Regions from separate parts of the Homo sapiens genome. Here region 1 is linked to region 2. Evidence: promoter capture Hi-C in human tissues and cell types (Jung and others, 2019). All regions are on one chromosome and are shown on one strand. Each heading gives the region's core, a stretch centred on a gene start or on the middle of the fragment in contact. The rest is flanking DNA. Distances are from core to core; before and after follow the strand shown. Region 1 has its middle 27 kb from the start of COMMD9. Region 2 holds the start of PAMR1 (peptidase domain containing associated with muscle regeneration 1).

Region 1 (4,325 bases), core at 1,706-4,205, 740 kb before region 2:
AGGATTTGTTGAATGCATGTAGGAATGAATGAACAAATGAATGAAAAAAATGGCTATCCTGACTGGGACTAGGGTTGACTGAGTGGTCACTCAGTCAGTGCCACCAGCCACTGCCTTTTGCTAACCTCAGAGGCTGGAAGGGGCACTGCTGGAGGACAGTGAGGCTAAGGAGAAGAGAGCTCGTCTCAGCTGCACCATCTGGGACCCAGCTCTAGGGGTCTGGGTAACAGTGACATCAAGAGCAGAAATCCTAGAGCCTGCTATGCCCACAGCCTCTGAATGCTTGTCCCAAACCTCCCAAGAAAATCACCCGGGCTGCAGAGCCCCAGGGAACCCCCGTGGTCATCCAGGGTGCATGGGCATGACTGCTGACCATCTGTTTCCCAGGATGGATTTCTCCCTGGCACAGATGGTGAATCCAGACTCCTCTCTCCCATGTCAAACAGCCAGCTGTGGAAGACACTGCATTGCTGCAGTCTCTGCCTGGTCTCTCTCGTGACCCCATTTTCCACATCATTCGCCTCCACTCCTCTCCACATGTTGGTTTCATTTCAACCTTACCCAAAAAGAACTCCTCCCTCTGGTTGGTCTGTTGAGCCATCTCACAAAATGAAATTCATAGCGTCTGAAGCAGTGGGAAACTCTTCTCTTTGCTTGTTTAGCAGAGACATGGGTATCCCTTCATCCCCCTTCACAACCTTAGCCCATCCTCATCATGATCTCTCACCTGGAATACTGGATTAGCCTCCAAAGGGCACCCTGCACTGGCCTTGTCCTCCCCAAGTCCAGCCTTCCCAGTGCTTTCCAGAAAGTAAACTTGATCTGGTTTTACTCGCTAAACCTGGTCCCACCTTCCCGGGCTTCTCCATCTTAGTAAACAACAGCTCCAACCAGAGACGTGGGAAACATCACTGCCTCCTTCTCTGCCTGCTGCTATACCCACCTTCCTCCCATTTAATCCATTAGCAAGACTTGCTGGTTCTCTCTCCAAAATATACTCACATTGGTCCATTTCTCTCCATCTCTGCACCACCTTGGTTAATGACTCTGTCATTTCTCACCTATGGTAGCCTCTAAGCATGATGACATCTGACACCCTCTGCCTCCTGAGCTCATAACACTTTCCTCAGCACTCCATTCACACCAACCTTCCTTCAGTTCCAAGAGTCCTCCAAAGTCTTTCCAGCCGCAATGCCTGTGCACTCACTGCATCCCCCACCCACCCCTCGCCCTGCTCCAAACTGTAACACTCTTTCCCCTGCTCTTGAAAAGACTGGGTTCTTCCCATTTTTTTAATACTTATCTAAAAGATCACTATCTTAGAGAAAGTTTCTCAAGCTATGCTCTCTAAAGAGGATTCCTTCTTTTATTCTGAATCACAGCATCCTGTTCATTTCTTGCCCCCCACCACTCCACGCCATGGAAAGTCTTATTAATTCAGTGAACTGATGTGCATTCTCATTTATTTACCATGGTCGTTGTCTGTCTCCCCACTGGAGACATGAAGATGAGCAACTTGTCTATCTTGTTCGATGTTATATCCCCATAGCCTGGCACGGAGTACCTGCTCAATAAATATTTGCTAACTGAATGTAATAAATGAATGGAAGATGCATCATGGCACTGTCCTGCTTTTCTCTGTCAATGGCTTCCCATTGTCCCCAGTATGCTGTCAAAACTCCAAACTCCATAGGGCTCCATTAGAGTTTCTTCACGACCTTACCTCAGCTCACCTTTCCAATGTCTTCATTAGGTTTATGGGGAATCAATCTGGAAAGGTTCAAGTCATAATGGGTTCCATGGTGCAGACGAGAGCACTGGCCTGGCAGTGAGAAAAAGGGACATTGAACAAATGATCTTTATGATTCCAGGCAGTGCTTCCATTGTGCAGTCTGAGGTTTGTTTGAGTGTGTGGTTAGTTTGTTTGTTTGTTTGCTGTTTGTTTTTTAAACCATAGCTGGGATGAAACTCTCAATCAAGAAGCCAAGGGAGAAATTTGAGAAGAGAAGCAACAGCTCTTGCTGTCTTGGATGGCTGGGAAGGGATATGCAGAGATCAGGAATCCCTAGTGCTGACTCGGGCCAGGCAGCGTCAGGAGTCTCAAGAAAACAAACCCTGGAGATTGGCAGGTCCAAGAGCAGGGCGGGGGGCCACACCGGTCTCGTTCACCTTCTATCCCCAGTGCTTAGTCTTTGGCACATGGTAGGTCCTTGGTGAAAGGTTGGGGGGAAGCACATGCCACGGGGACCGGAAACCCCGTCCCACTCATGTCACTGCTGAGTGTCATCGAGATCACAAGAAAGCCCCCCAGGCCATGGTCCCTCTCAATGAGAAGCATCTATGGATGGCAGGGGCAGGGCTATTTGCCCCACTCGTCTGCCCTCCTCAGACCTCAACTGAGCCTTCAGCCGCCCCCAGTGTACATGTCCTACTGGCCCAGCCTCAGTTTTGCTCCCTCCACTGCTAAACATATCTGACAGATCAAACATATTTGCTGGCTCTTTGCAATGGCTCTGTGTCTAGATAGGGTTTCTTTTCTTTTCTTTTTCTTTTTTTTTTCTTTCTTTCTTTTCTTTTCTTTTCTTTTTTTTTTTTTTTTTTTTTTTTTGAGGCAGGGTCTCGCTCTGTTGCCCAGGCTGGAGTATGGTGTAATCTGGGTTCACTGCAGACTCAACCACCTGGGCTCAAGCAGTCCTCCCACCTCAGCCTGCCAAGTATCACACACCACAACAGCCCACCTGATTAAAAAAAAAAAAAAGTACAGATGCAGTCTTGCTTTGTTGCCCAGGCTGGTTGCAAACTCCTGGGCTCAAGCAACCCTCCTGCCTCAGCCTCCTAAAGTGCTGGGATTATAGGCGTGAGCCACTGTGCTCAGCCCCTGGTTTCTTGCTCTAATCCTCCCAAGCCCAGCAGCACCAGGCAGCTGCCAGGATTGAAGAAGGCACCTCCGAGTCTCTAAGTCAGCTTCCTCAGAGAGTGTTCCCTCGATTCCTAGGTGTGCGGCTCTGGGTATAGACCTCCGGGCTCAGCCCTGACCACAGATATAAATTGAGCCTCTGCAGCAGGGATGGGGTAGGAGGAGCTGAGGGTATCTAGGGGCTTTTTCATGAACCACAGTCCTTCCAAGCAGCACAAGCTTCTCCACAGCAAACCCCAAAAGCTGTGTGCACTTCTGATTAATCCACTGAGATGAGTCCGCTGAGAGGGCAAAGTATCTCCACGTTCACACTGGGCACCAGAAGTTGTCACACAAAGCATCTGGCGGGCATGCACACTAGGTCTTTGAATCCTCATATCCCTCAGCGGTGGTTTTATTATCTCCACTTCCTCAGATCAGGAAACAGAGCCTTGGAGATGAGAAATAATTTGCTGGAGGTCACAGCTAGGTCTGGCCCCACGTCCAGTGGTTTTCAGTTTCTGGACAAATTCAGGGCTGGGAAGTTACAGTGTGGAAAAGGATCATCCTCAGAAGATAAAAGTGTCAAAATCGACGAGATGGCCCCCCAGGAGTGCCAGTGATCTAAAGCTGGGAGCTCCAGGAACAAGGAGAAGGATGGCTGCCCCAGATGGACCGAGACCGGTCAGAGACAAAGGAGGCTGGGTAGATGTCTGGGAGCCTTGTGACATTAGGAGCAGCTGGAAATAGAGGAGGGAAAGAAAGAAGGAGGCTCAGGAGGTGGTAACATCAAAAGGCTATCTCATGGCAGGGGGGATGCATGTTATTCCAGGTGGCAGGGCAAGGTTGGTGTGGGGAGGACAGTGGGGAGGGATAGCTGGCTGGCTTTGTAGGGTTATTCTCTGGCTCTAGCGGTTGAGAATGGTAAAAGCTAGTGCTTTAACATCAGGTGCCTCTGTAGGTTCTTCAGAAGCCTCCATCCGAGGGTCCTAACACAGGTGCCTGTCTTCTCCAGTGGCCACTCAGGACTAACACCTCAGTTTTCTGTGATCCACTCCATTTACAGGTTTATTCTGTTGAAGCCACATCAGCGCCTCCAGGCTGAGGTTATACGTGGCTTGTAAATCCTAAAATATTTACCGTCAGGCTCTTTACAGAAAAAGTTTGATTAAAGTTTGATGAAAAAATAGTATATGTTATACACCTTGCTTTTTTTTTTCTTTAACCCAGTAACCTATCCTGAAGGTCTCCTTCTATCAGTACTTAAGAGCTTCTTCATTCCTTTCTAGGGCACACAGTATACCATTGTCTGGATGGACTATGATTTATTTAGCCAGTTTCCTATTGGTGGACAGTTAGGCTGTTACCAACCTTCTGCTATTACAAATGCTGCTGCAATAGGTAGATTTGTACAGGAAGCTGGAGAAAG
Region 2 (4,347 bases), core at 523-3,022:
TAGTGTGCACTTAATATGTGGTAGGCTCTGTGCTATGGGCCTTACATGCGTAATCTTATTAAATTCTTCCAGTGATCTACAAAGTAGGTTTGATTATTATTTCCATTTTATAGATGAGAAGACTGAGATTCAGAGAGTTAACTTGCTTAAGGTCACACAGCCAGAAAGTGGTGAATCAACAAAATTAGAACACAGGCCTGCTGAGTTCTTGCTTCCAGTCACTTCACTGCAATAGGCCCCCAGAAGCAGGGCTGGAGTTCAGAAATTCTTTCTAGTAGAGCACCTGTGTCAGGGCTCCTGACCTTCTGATCTGTCCTGAGCTTTACAGATTCTACCTTCCTCAGGTTTCTCCCCTTATCTTTTCCCTTCCACTTCCATTTCTTAATCCTTACTCCAGGCCTTCATCAATAGTCCAGGGTGACTTCTCTTCCCGAGACTTTGCTTTGAGCTCAGCACACCCTACTTGTAAACCACCAGGGCCCGCCAACATCTAGAGAACAAAATTAAAACTTTTATGGGGGTAACTGTCCCCATGATTCAATTATCTCCACCTGGTCCCTCCCATGACACGTGGGGTTTATGGGAACCACAATTCAAGATGAGGTTTGGGTGGGGACACAGCGAAGCCATATCAAATGGTGAAATACAATTCTGCATATGTAGCATCCTAAGAAGCTCTATAGCCTAGTGGCTAAGACTATAGCCTGTGGGCCTAAGCTGCCCGGGTTCAAACCCTGGCTCTGCCCCTCACTAACTGTGTGGCCTTGGATGAGTTATTGTAATCCTCAATGGTTCCGTTTCTCTAATTGTAAAATACAGAGGCTAGGTTTATTGTGAGGAATAATTGAGTTAATACATGTAAGGTACATGACACCTGGCACGGAGGAGTTTATTTTAAAAAGTCACCTATTATGAAACATCCTTCTTCCTCATTTCGAGATGTCACTTGCTATCTTGTACCTAAACTGAGCCCTTTTGGTGGAGGCAGTGAGGGTTCTTGTGTGTTCTTCGCCATCCCTGCCTGGCGTGTGCGCAGGAGCTATTTATGTTGCTGAATTCACCATCGTGGGGATCACAGGAAGAGGAAAACTTTTTCCAGTAGCTCAGGAGCTGCTTATGTCGCTGAATTCACCATGACGGGGATCATAGGAAGAGGAAAACTTTTTCCAGTAGCCTGTAGTTGCAAAAGATAATAAGCTTTCCAACCTGTGATCACCTGGAGCAAACGGAGAGGAAAGGAGATAAACGAGGAGTGTTGCGTGCGGAGTGGAGGGAGGCTCCCTTTCTCCTCCCATCACCAACTCCTCCTTCTCCTCAGGCCAGGCTTTTAATCAGGCTCCCCGCGTGCAGTCAGAGAGGGCAAAGCCAGCTCCCGTCTCAGCCTCCCGTAGGAAGATCTCCCGGCCTCACCTGAGCGCCCCGCAGCCCTGGGTACCTCTGCTCCCGCCCAGGGTCCTATGGCCCCTCCTCCCAGCACCCAACACTGGGACCCCACCTGTACCCAGGCTGGCCTCCCTCCCCCGCAGCTTCCTTTGCAGCCGCCGTCCGCGGGTCTCCAGGCGTGGCCACACCTCCCGGGGCCCCGCAAGGGTTAAGGCAGCAGAGAGGAGAGGTTTGGGCTGACGTCGCTCTGGCTGAAGGTGGTTCCCCTCAGATGAGGATGGGAGAGCCTGGCGAGCTGAAACCCGAGCTCCCGCTCAGCTGGGGCTCGGGGAGGTCCCTGTAAAACCCGCCTGCCCCCGGCCTCCCTGGGTCCCTCCTCTCCCTCCCCAGTAGACGCTCGGGCACCAGCCGCGGCAAGGATGGAGCTGGGTTGCTGGACGCAGTTGGGGCTCACTTTTCTTCAGCTCCTTCTCATCTCGTCCTTGCCAAGAGGTACTGTGAGTAGCGTCCGGGACACCCTAGGAGGACACCCTAGGAGGGAGCATTTTCCTCCTGGGGTCTGCCTGGGAGCAGGACTGGGAGTCTCAGGAGGTGGGCTGTGTGTGTTTGGGGTGAGGGGTTGAGGGGGGGTGGTGCTTTTCCAGTGATAATTTTAGGGACTTGGCTGGTGGTGCTGGAGCTCCTGTGGCCCTCCCTGAGACTGTGACGTGGTTTTGTCATCCCAAATCGTGGGGCTGTACTGTCTCAGGAAAGCGGACCAGCTCCTATTTTATTTGCTCTTTTTATCATTTTAAAAGTACCAAATTGCCTTAGGGAATCAATTCTGAGTTACCCGCTCTGACTTGCAAAAGCGAAGTTTCTCTTGGAAAGGGCTCCCTCAGAGGTGAGCAAGAAAGAAAGAAGAGAGGGAAAGAAAGAAAGGAATAAAGAGCAGGGCTTGCTTGGTGTTCTTCTGGTGAATCTTGCTTCACGAACTCCTACAGCCATACCCCTTCGGAGTAGATCCAAGCACAGGAGATTGACTCACTCAGCATATATAGACACACTTCCTTTCTGATGAGAGTGAGAAAGAAGAAAAAGCCAAGGTTAAAAGTGCAGATTGTTTCTGGGATGCATAGGGTTTGTTTTGAAAGAGCTCTGGCTTCTTTGGTTTTCATATATCATTTTCTAAGCCACAATCCCCAGGTCAAATGGGCTTCTGGGGACAAATGAGGCTGGGACATGATACGGAGATCCAGCTAAGGGCAGAAGCGAGGACATGGCAGATCCTGCTTGCTGGCAGGCGGGGAAGTGGGAACGTCATAGGAACATCTGTCCTTCTATGGCCCAGGGGGTAAAGTGAGACCTCATGAGATGAGGGCAGGCCGAGATGTACAGAAATGACCAAACGGGGCAGCTCTGAATAGGGGCAGGTTATGTACGAGCCTTCGCTGCTTCCCTTCTGTGCTGGTTACCTGTCACCTGAACTCTATCTGAGAGCTGGGTGCTCTGCCGCTGCAAGTAGCTGGCAAGTGCCTGAGAATGAAACAGGCCAGGTCGGGTGGGGAGGATACTAAATGCAATAACCTGTGTAGAAGGGAAACTTAGCCATAGGCACATCCCTTCATGATCAACGAAAAGCTGAGATACACAAACCCCCCTGCCCTTCATTTTGGTCAATACTTTCCATCTACCTAGAGCCTGCCTGCCCAGGTAGGATCTTCCTTAATGATTTACAATAAAGATGGTGAGTGTTTCATTTGAATTTTGCCTCCATGGTGTCTGGAGCAGCCCAAAGACAATAATAAAGGAAGAAGGAGCCCTTCATAAGGGCTGACAATCCATAAACCTAAACACTTGCCTAGGGGTAAGTGGGTGACTTTGCATTAAGGCACCTCCCTACTTCATCTTCGCCTTTGCATGGTGTCGGTGGACCAGCTCCAGAGGACCTGGTTCTTCTCAGAGTGCCAGGGCTCAGTGGATTTGATTCCTCAGGGTTACATCAGCGTTCCCCTGCTTCCTGTTTTATTACATGGCAGGTGAGGCGCTTCAAAGCCATAAAAGTTTAAAAGAAAATAAAAAAACCTGAGCTGGCTCTTTTTCCTAGCCCAGAATCTGAAAAATCCATTTATTTCTGACCCGAGAACCTCTTTTACCTTTGGCTGTGAAAAAGCTTCAGAGAGGATACGCAGTTTGTTGGTAGCTAAACTGCTGCCTGAACCAGAGCGCAGCTTCATGTGTTTAGCAAGGATATTTTAGTTGTTGAATGTTTTACTCACATTTCGAGGGAAGACGGAGGAATAGCGTGGAGAAGGAAAATATTTCCTCAAGGAGTGAAGGAAGTCCACTCCCTGCTGGGATGCTGAATCTGGCCCCAGGCAAGAAAAGCTTGGAAGCGTATTTCCTCTAATTAACTTTTCTAAAAAGAGTATTTGCTGAATTGTAAACATCCACTGGGATGGTACCAGAGAGTGTTGTTTCTCACTGGCATGTGACACATGTTGGGAGGATGAGAATCCAAACATGAGGCCAAGCGATAACCCAACATAAACAGAATGAGGGGAGAAACCCAACTCCACTGACTTCACCAAATTGCGGTAGCTCTGCCAGTGTGATTCTGCCGAAGAGGAAAACCTCATTTAAAATATGGGACTCTTGGGAATGAAAACTTAATCTGGAGAACTTCACAAGTGTTGCTTCCAACAGACATTAACTTGTGGGGAATGAACATAAATGCAACCAGGGAAGATAATTTGAAGTGCAGATATTCAGTGGGCAGGAAAAGCCAGCCGAGAAAGGAAACATGGAAAGAAAGCAAGGGAGAAGGAGTGGCAAGAAAAATGAGATGTGAGATTACACTGGGATATGTTGGCAAATTCCTAGGAGAAAGCTAGGAAAATTGGGCCTTCTTGGCACGGGTGGATTTTTGCGGGGATCATGAAGAGGGTGTTCCCCTAATATACAATCTGAGAGCTCCTGGCATCC

What was found. Contacts are between HindIII fragments. The study calls those that stand out against the background at their distance.
Region 1: a contact is called between a fragment that was not itself captured here and the fragment with the promoter of PAMR1 in region 2, in 2 of the 25 tissues and cell types used here (bladder and mesendoderm cells).

What each region holds. Positions count from the first base shown.
Region 1 is chr11:36,260,708-36,265,032 of GRCh38, reverse strand. No RefSeq gene overlaps it. Among named protein-coding and RNA genes, the nearest start is that of COMMD9, 27 kb to the left of the region's middle. The HindIII fragment of the contact is 7,628 bases long and covers 1-4,325 here.
Region 2 is chr11:35,523,041-35,527,387 of GRCh38, reverse strand. It overlaps PAMR1 (peptidase domain containing associated with muscle regeneration 1), which reads left to right and starts at 1,772. Exons shown (of 11, transcript NM_001001991.3): 1 at 1,772-1,875. The coding sequence starts at 1,803. The HindIII fragment of the contact is 6,683 bases long and covers 1-2,366 here.